Linked DNA regions of Homo sapiens: region 1 is linked to region 2. The links are contacts of gene promoters, found by promoter capture Hi-C in blood cells and fetal thymus (Javierre and others, 2016). All regions are on one chromosome and are shown on one strand. Each heading gives the region's core, a stretch centred on a gene start or on the middle of the fragment in contact. The rest is flanking DNA. Distances are from core to core; before and after follow the strand shown. Region 1 has its middle 16 kb from the start of ZBED5. Region 2 holds the start of USP47 (ubiquitin specific peptidase 47).

Evidence for each region. The method cuts DNA at HindIII sites, captures the fragments that hold promoters and counts their contacts. A CHiCAGO score of 5 or more calls a contact.
Region 1: a fragment that was not itself captured here is called in contact with the fragment with the promoter of USP47 in region 2 in 2 of 17 cell types (non-activated CD4 T cells and activated CD4 T cells); the score reaches 6.6 in non-activated CD4 T cells.

Annotation. Positions count from the first base shown.
Region 1 is chr11:10,839,830-10,844,188 of GRCh38, reverse strand. No RefSeq gene overlaps it. Among named protein-coding and RNA genes, the nearest start is that of ZBED5, 16 kb to the left of the region's middle. The HindIII fragment of the contact is 4,377 bases long and covers 869-4,359 here.
Region 2 is chr11:11,839,944-11,844,702 of GRCh38, reverse strand. It overlaps USP47 (ubiquitin specific peptidase 47), which reads right to left and starts at 2,731. Exons shown (of 28, transcript NM_001282659.2): 1 at 2,479-2,731. The coding sequence starts at 2,517. LOC107984311 (a long non-coding RNA gene) reads left to right here and starts at 2,862. Exons shown (of 4, transcript XR_001748134.3): 1 at 2,862-3,528. RefSeq lists enhancers at 2,488-2,627, 1,926-2,789, 2,838-3,007, 2,790-3,655. The HindIII fragment of the contact is 16,233 bases long and covers 1-4,759 here.

The sequences.
Region 1 (4,359 bases), core at 1,808-4,307, 1.0 Mb after region 2:
TTCAAGTCACTTAAGTTCTCTCACCCTCAGTTTCTTCCTCTCTTTTAAGAGGAATAATATTTTATTCTGTGTTTTACAGCCCTGCTCTGAGAATCAAATAATGTAATACATGTAAAATCCCTATGTAAAATGTTATAGCATTATCAAATATCATTATTTTAATACTAACAATGTTATAACACAATATTACCTGGTAGAGATTTTTAGTAGACTTGAGTTAATAATAGTTACCTTTTTTGTTTTGTTCTTTTTGATCACATATTGGATGCCAGATGCTTTATATATGTATTTCATTTAATCATGATAACAACTCTGTGAGGTAAGCTATCAATCCCATTTTAGAGATGAAGAAACAAAGGCTATGTGTTAGTTACCTATTGCTTAACAAATTGCTCCAAAACATAGTGGCTTAAAACATCAACATTTATTACCTCACAGTTGCTATACGTCAGGAATCAGGTGGAGCTTAGCTTCAGAGTCTCTCACTGGCTGCGATGAAGGTGTTAGCAAGAGCTGCAGTCATTTCAAGACTCCACTAGAGCCGCGCGCGGTGGCTCACGCCTGTAATCCCAGCACTTTGAGAGGCTGAGGTGGGAGGATCACGGGGTCAGTAGATCGAGACCATCCTGGCTAACACGGTGAAACCCCGTCTCTACTAAAAATACAAAAAATTAGCCGGGCATGGTGGCAGGTACCTGTAGTCCCAGCTACTTGGGAGGCTGAGGCAGGAGAATGGCATGAACCCAGGAGGCGGAGCTTGCAGTGAGCCGTGATTGCACCACTGCACTCTAGCCTGGGCGACAGAGCGAGACTCCGTCTCAAAAAAAAAAAAAAAAGACTCCACTAGTGAAGGATCCACTTCCAAGCTTACTCCTGTTGGCAGGATTCAGTTTTTTGCAGGCTGTTGGAAGTTCCTTGACACATGGACCTCTACAGGGCAGCTCACAACATTCCAGCAGGTTTCATCAAAGTGAACAAGTGAGAAAGCACCAGTAAGACCAAAATCATAATTTTTTGTAACCTAGTTTTGGAGGTGACATCCCATCATTTTTGTTATGTTCTATTCATTAAAAGCAAGTCACTAGGTCCAGCCCATATTCAAGGGGAAGGTATTATGCAAGAGTGTGAATACCAGGAGGCGGAAATCACAGTGAGCCACTTTAGAAGGCGTCTCCCTCAGGATCAGGGTGCTCAAGTTGTTTATCCAGTTTTACAAAGCTAATGAGTAACAAACCTGAGATTCCAGGTTACATCTGTCTGACTTCAAAGCACACAGTATTTCCATTTGTTGCTCTTCTCTCAGTGAATACATAGAATTGTATGTAATTTTTATATTATGTTTATGGTTAGCATAAACTTGACTAGAGATGAATTTTTCTAAAGCATTAAAAATGTTTGGCCAGGCACGGTGGCACATGCTTGTAATCCCAGCACTTTGGGAGGCCGAGACAGGCAGATTACGAGGTCAGGAGTTCAAGACCAGCCTGACCACCATGGTGAAACTCTGTCTCTACTAAAAATACAAAAATTAGCCAGGTGCAGTGCTGCGCACCTGTAATCCTAGCTACTCAGGAGGCTGAGGCAGGAGAATTGCTTGAACCCGGGAGGCAGAGGTTGCAGTGAGCAGAGATGACACCACTGCACTCCAGCCTGGGCAACAGAGCAAGACTCTCTCAAAAAAAAGTTTGTTTTGTGTCATAGAATAAGTTACCTTCATTCTAATGTTTTTTAGGATTGTTCATCCTAATCAATTTTCTTAATAGATAGGGACAGTTAAATCTTTTTCATTCTTGGTCTGTGATAATAAATTCCAAGTTTTAGTTCATATTTTTAAAAACACACAAAGTAGAAGTTACCTGTCAGCAAGACCATCTAAGGAAAATAATCTGGTGGATATGCTAGTATTACTAATAGACCTGTGGAGAGCATTTTTTTCATTTGTTAATTTATTCACAGTTTAATGGGGTACAGGGACAGACATTTATAAATAACAATAAAGATTTATACAAGGATCTATGTAAGTTCAGAGAAAAATATGATGAAGTATGAGTCAAAGACAAATTCATAGAGATAAATGCTGTATTTGAGTCTTGAACCATGAATCTGAATTTATCAGGTGGCCAAGGCACTGTGTTTTTTTTTTTTTAAAGCCCTCCCTTTTTTTTAAGAGACAGGATCTCACTCCAGGCTGGAGTGCAGTGATGCCTTCATAGCTCACTGCCACCTCAAACTCTTGGCCTCAAGTAATCCTCCCACCTCAGCCCCCTGAGTAACTAGGACTATAGGTGTGCATCACGATGCTCAGCTAATTATCAACTTTTTGTAGAGATAGGGTCTTGCTATTTTGCCCAGGCTAGTCTCAAATTCCTGGCCTCAAGGAATTCTGCCTCGGCCTCCTAGAATGCTGGGATTATAGACTTGAGCCACCACGCCCAGTCTGTTCAAGATTATTAAAGATTATCAGAGTCCAAATTACCAGCAGACTTGGAATTTTGAGAAGTCTCTGAAAGAAGGGAGATGGGATCAAATTGGCAGTGTAATAATTCAGGCTCAGAAGTGATAGATTAAAGAAAAGAGATAGATGGAGTAGGGGAGTAGAAGGCAGGGGTGGGGATGGCATAGCGTCCTAGAGCAACTATAAAGGATAACTTTTGGGGAATGGAATTTGAAACCTCTGGTTGGGTTGGCTCCTTCCCTCATTCATTCTTCAAAGCCAAGGGTACCTCAGAATGGTATTTGCCCCTAGCTAGCACAGTGACTTTGGAAACTTGGGGCCAATAAGCCAGGCAGTACCCCAGTGGCTACACTGTGTCCAGGAAAGGAAGCCTCATTTCACACTCAGAATGTTAGCTACTGGCATACCCTGTCCAGGATTACATTTTATCCCCTCACAATCACTAGAGCAAACTATGATAAACAGAAATGGCCTCATACACAGAGAACAGGAAATAACAAGATGAGAACAAAATTAGGAACAACCAAATGCCGGAGGAAGACCAGTACCATGAAAGCATGACAGCAGTCAACAAACAAAAAGCAAGTAGTTTTCAGAGTAAACAGAAGAGGATCTGTGAAATGATAATTATTAATAATTAGTGCATCCTGGTGTGGTGTCAGGCATTCTTCTAAGCACCTCACATGTTTTTTTTAAATTTAGTTTGTATACAGAATATCCCCAGAGGAATAGGAGAGAATATTGTAATGATGAAAAAGAACCAGTTAAATAGATTGTTACCATTTTAAAAAATTATGCGAGGTGTGGTGGCTCACACCTGTAATCCCAACAATTTGGGAGGCTGAGGTGGGTGGATTGCTTGAGCTCATGAGTTTGAGACCAGCCTGGGAAACATGACGAAACCTCGTCTCTACAAAAAATACAAAAATTAGCTGGGGGTAGTGGTGCATGCCTGTAGTCCCAGCTACTCAGGAGGCTGAGGTGGGAGGATGGCTTCAGCCCAGGAGGCAGATGTTGCAGTGAGCTGAGATGGTGCCACTGCACTCCAGCCTGGGCATAGACCCAGACCTTGTCTCCAAAAAATAAATAAATAAAATACAATATAATTTTTAAAAATTAAAAGGTGGACTAAACAGTGAATGGACTTCTTCAATGAAGAGCAAACTAGCAAAACTGGAACAGTAAGCTAAAGAGTTACTCCAAAAGAACAAAGATAATGGTGGAGGGTGATTTCAGAGACATGTAAAATAAATGCAGGGATTCCAGTAACTCATAGTTCCAAAGAGAGACACATGAAATAATTTTACGGAGGAAATATTAAAGAAGTGATAGAAGAAAAGTCCATGTCTGGGTGCAGCGGTTTACACCTGTAATCCCAGCACTTTGGGAAGCTGAGGCAGCAGGATCGCTTGAGCCCAGGAGTTTAAGACTAGCTTGGGCAACACAGTGAGACCCTGTCTCTATTTTTAAATATATATGTATTTTTAAAATGTTATAAAGAAAAATTCCTGGCATTACTTTAGTGTAATTTATAAGATTTATTTAATGTCATTTGCATCTAAAAAAGGAGCAAACATTATTTTAGTGCATCTTATTTTTTATTCCACATTGCATCAAAAATTTCATCACTTCATGTGTTTCTAAATCATATATTTATGTTTGCATAATTGTGCTCATTTTTAAACTTTATATATATATATATATATATATATTTAATAGAGATGGGGTCTCACTATGATGGGGTCTCACTGTGTTCAAGACTGGTCAGTCTTGAACTCCTGGCTTCAAGCAGCCCTCCCACCTTGGCCTCCCAAAGTGCCAGGATTATAGGTGTGAGCTACCATGCCCAGCGTAAACTTTTTATTTTGAAATAAAGTTAGACTGGCTGGGTGTGGTGACTCATG
Region 2 (4,759 bases), core at 1,482-3,981:
CCATTAAAATAAATGCATGAAATTTTTTAATTTGCCATTTATTTTCACATATATATGTACTTAGAGAGTTACAAACTATTCTTACAGAGCCTCTAAATTACATGTAGGGCTCTGTAAAATAGGGTATAATCAAGGGAATAGTAGCAAAGGAAGTGAGTTCTAGCACTAGGTCTGCCATTTACTCATTATTTGACCCTGAACAAGTCACTTTCAATCTTCTGGGCCTAACTCCCTTAACTGTAAAGTGGAGGGGTAACTTAGATGATGATTATGCTTTCTCTTAGCTCTAGCACTGTATGATTCTACTACTGTTTAAAAGGACCTGTCCCGGAGCTTCAAGGATCACACAAAAGTGCCAATTAAGAATACAAAAAAGAAGAGAAAGGCCTTGACTAAATGAGTGGGCAGATAGGACAAACAGGTGGGAAAATGACCAGAAAAGTGGAGTATCACTAAAATCAAGAAATTGTTTTTTTAAAAAAACTATCAGATCCTGCAGAGAATTCGAACAGCAGAAGAGGCAAGAAAAAAAAAGTCAAAGAATTTGGTCATTTAAGAGATAACTGGTGATTTTCAGAAAAAGTTTCCAGTAATCCAGAAGCAAATATGGAACTGGAGGCAATCACTTTAATAAAGAATGAGTGTGGCCATCAAAGAAGAAAAAGCTAGTTGGCTAGCTATAAAAGGTAAGAACCACAGATCATGCTTCCAGGAATCATGAAAGGAACCAGGGAAAAAGAAGACTGAAGATGAGACTAAGGAATAGACAATAAAGGCATATGGTCCATAAAAAGAAGAAAGGGAAAAAACATAAGTTGTGATGAATTTAAAGCCTCAGGGAAGGGAATTAATCTTAAAAGGACAGGCATTTAATCTTTAAACTTCCGTTGCTGTTATCACTTTTTACACAACAGATGTTTCTGCAAAGCTCGGTATCTATTATCATATCATGTTTTCTATAAATCAAGTTATTAGGGAAATAAATCTAATGTTGGGTTTTCTTAAAGCAGAGTTCCACCTATATGATATTTTTCTAATGGTCAAAAAATTAAGAAAGAATTTTGTTTTTTATAAAAATGAAAACCAGCAATATGAAGCTCTAAAATGAAATACACATTTATACCTTTCTTACAGCACCTATCACTTCCTTCCTTGCATAAGAATTACTTACGTGGTAAAGTACCTAGTCCCTAATTGGAGTTCAACAAACACTAGTGTTCCCTTTCTTAGTAGCTCAGAAAGTTCCCAAGGCAAGAATTCTGATTAACTCATCTGTTTATCTGCTTTGCACAGAGTTGGTGACGCTTGATGAACAAATACTGACACATAACTCTCTGCCTTTTACAAAAATCGTCCTTGCAAAACAACTATCACTGCCCTTCTGACAAAGCTGGGAAAATACTTGTATCATACAGGTACATAACTCCAATAATATCACCCTTGCATACTGTCAGAGCTTGCTTAAGTAACAAAGAATTGCTACAAAACAAGTAAAACAGGCACAAAAAAATTTAAGAATCTGTAATGATCACTCATTAATTTCAAGATCGCACACAGTTAATTTCAATCCAACACTTGTCTCTATTTAAGGTATATGAGAAATAAAAATCCAAAGCATTAGCCTGATGATCAGCCAGTTAAAAATACACATTTGAATACGCCGAAGATATTTATAAAGCCAACAGAGATACTATTAATACGTTGAAATTCGCTGGCCAGTGCTGGATTCTACCCTAAATCTTCTACTACTATTCAAGAGAAGCCAAGTAGTCAAGGCTTCTCGTATCACTTGCTTTTAAGAATTTAAGAAGTCACTCAAATTGGCATACACAACCCAACCTCAAAAAAAAAAAAAAAAAAAAAGAGTTCAGCTCTCCATGTGGTAATGTTCTCCTATCTCCTTCCTTTACATTAATGTCCCATGTACTACTTTTCCACGATCTTCGGTAGGCCCCATTTAGGCAGGCCAATAGTACTACCAAGTAACAGGAGTTGAAAAAAGTCGTAACAGTTAAGTCTGCCCTCCCACAGATCTCACTTGGGTGTAGATTTCACAAGCGCTGAAAGCTATACGCTGCCACTGTCAAACCCAGAAGCAGCACCGTCACCCTGCCGTGCCCATAGGCAACTGTTCCAGAATGTTTTCTTTGAAATGATCTCTCCCGGCTCCACACGTTAAACAAGAACTTAAAAGGCCACCTTCTCCCCTAGAGCAGAACCTGATTCTTTCCCGTCCGCTCCTTTATTCGTCCAGCCCCATAAAACCCGAGGCGGGAGGTCCGCTCCCCGGCCCCTAGAGCCAGCGGGTCTCCCAACTGCTCGCCGCACCCACCGTCCACCCCCGACTGCCTCACGCCTCCTCATTCCCCCACAGCCGAGCCTGCACCCCGGCCGGGCCCGCAGCCGAACCCCGGCCCGGGCCTGTGTTGCCTCGAGCGGCCGCAGGCCTAAGGCCTAACCTCCTCTGGGGCCCCTCACCTCTTTCGGGACCAGTTGGTTCTCCTCGCCGGGCACCATCGCTGACTCCGGCCGCTCCTCTCCGCCCTGCCGGGGGAGGGTGGAGGGTGGCGGCGGCTCGCTAGCTCAAGAGAGAATGGCAGCGGCAGTCATCCTCTCCGCCGCCTGCGCTCCAGCAATAGCGGAGGCCTCAGCCTGGGCCTCAGACACCAGCGCGCAGACACCGACCCAGGGCTCCGCCGCCGCCGCCGCCGCTACCACAGCCGCCTTCGTCGTCGGCCCCTCCCCCAGCCCGCTGCAATCAATGGAAAAATGGCGGCGGCCGCTCTCGCGAGAATTCGGCCCGTCGGGCTCCAAGCCCGGCGCCTGGCGTCGGAGGTGGCCGGCACTTGTCGCTAGCTTCTAGTCACCTCGGCTCTTCCTCAGCCCCGGGAGGTACAGAATTGGCGAGACAGCCATGCAAACGCTTTTCGTTAGAGGAGAGCTGGACGTTCCATCTCGGGACTCCCTCTGCCGGCCGGGGAAGGACCAGGCCCACTGTCCTCCCTGCCTTCTCGGGCTCTTCGGACTCTCTGCCCTGCAGGGAAAGACTCGAGCCGAAAGCCCCATCTCTGACCCTAGCAACTCATACCCTTCTGGCTTCCCTTTAGCAAAGCGCCTGGACGTCATCCCCTCTTCAGATACCCCAGGCCTCGTCCTGGTAGAGACACCACCGCGGGCCACCTCCCGGCCCCCGCCCTTAGACACGGCTCTGGCCCTTCCAGTCAGAATGGACAGCGTTTTATTTGCTCCCGTTCACTCTCCTGACGTTCTTTTCCCCTCTCCCCACCCTCCCTCTCAAGGGCCCCCAGCTGGAGGGACCTCAGGGGCCACCCCCTGCTTGGGGAGGCAGCCACCCCTTCCCTTATGAAGCGGTGTCCTCACCGCCCGCCCCCCGCAACTACATTGGAGAGGCGCTCCCCTGCCCTCTTCCAGGGAACTTCCTTCTCCATCAGGGCCAAGTCTGAGACTGAGCTAGCCTTCCAAGAGTAGAGCTGCAGTATGCTTCAACCTGTGATCTCCGTTAACAAGGTTTTTAGAGAATTTTAATCTTCTCTAGTAGTAAGCATGGTGCTTTGTGTTATACTAAACAAAGTTTGCAGAAGTCATTTCTCCAAATCCTGCTTCCATTATGGAGACTCGGCGGGGCTCCTTCATGAAGACTTTTATGGATACAGTGATCTTACAGCATGCTGAGATAATATAATCTTGTCATGTTCCTAACACCCACAGCATTAACTGCCTGCACTTGTGTTCTCCAAACTTTTTTTTATTGTAATCCCGTTACCAAAAAAAAATCCATATACTTATATAAGTTTTATACGTGTCCTGCTGTGTGCAGAATTATAAAACATTTGTAAAATGTAAAAAGGCTAAGACAAAGATGACATAAACATTTAAAATAACTTAGTTATTTTCCATATTAATGGTATAAAAATCTTTGTTATTCTCACTAAAAATATTTAAGGAAATCAATATGATTGACTAGGTTTCGTTAGTTTTAAAAATCTTTAATACTTCGTGAAATAGTTATTAAAATATCTGATTGAACGTCAGGTTATTTTTGTACTTGGTTTTAATGGCTGTCATAAGCTGAAAAAAAGGTAACTCACAAAGATGTAGATCCTAAAGGAGGAAGTACATCTTTGGCCACTCTTCCTAATGCATGTTTAGAACGATTTAAAAAAAAAAACTGATATGAAAAAAGTTTCATTTTTATCCATTCCATCCAACAACCATGCAAAGGTTTTTATTGAAATTCAGCTAGTAGTGTTCCATCTTTCCTGATGTCAACCAGAAGATGTTGCATTTTTATATTTTTACAAATGGGTTCAAAGCTCTTTGGAATAAATTGCTTAGAAGATTTTTAAGAAGTTGAAAATTTCTATCTTCAAGTTTTAAGTATTCATGTATGAGTTTTGGGAGTTATAGATCTTGTCTTTAAGGTTTTGATATTTTGATTATCATGGATTGATTAAGATAAATTTTGACTTTTTAAAATATTGTATTAAGATTAGTTGTCTTGATTATTGAATTTTTGGCACCCCCCCCTTAAATTTTGTGCCCAAGGTGAACGGTTTTCACCTTGAAAACCATTTGCTTCACCATAGTCCCAGACTTGGGTGGCTCACATATATCATTTTTGCATCAAAATCACATGATGGAAATATTTCCAAACTTTTATTTTCAAAATGTCATCCCATGACTTAGTAAGGTGTCTTCTGTAGTGCTGGCCAGTGCTGTAGTGCTCACCCTAGAAGTA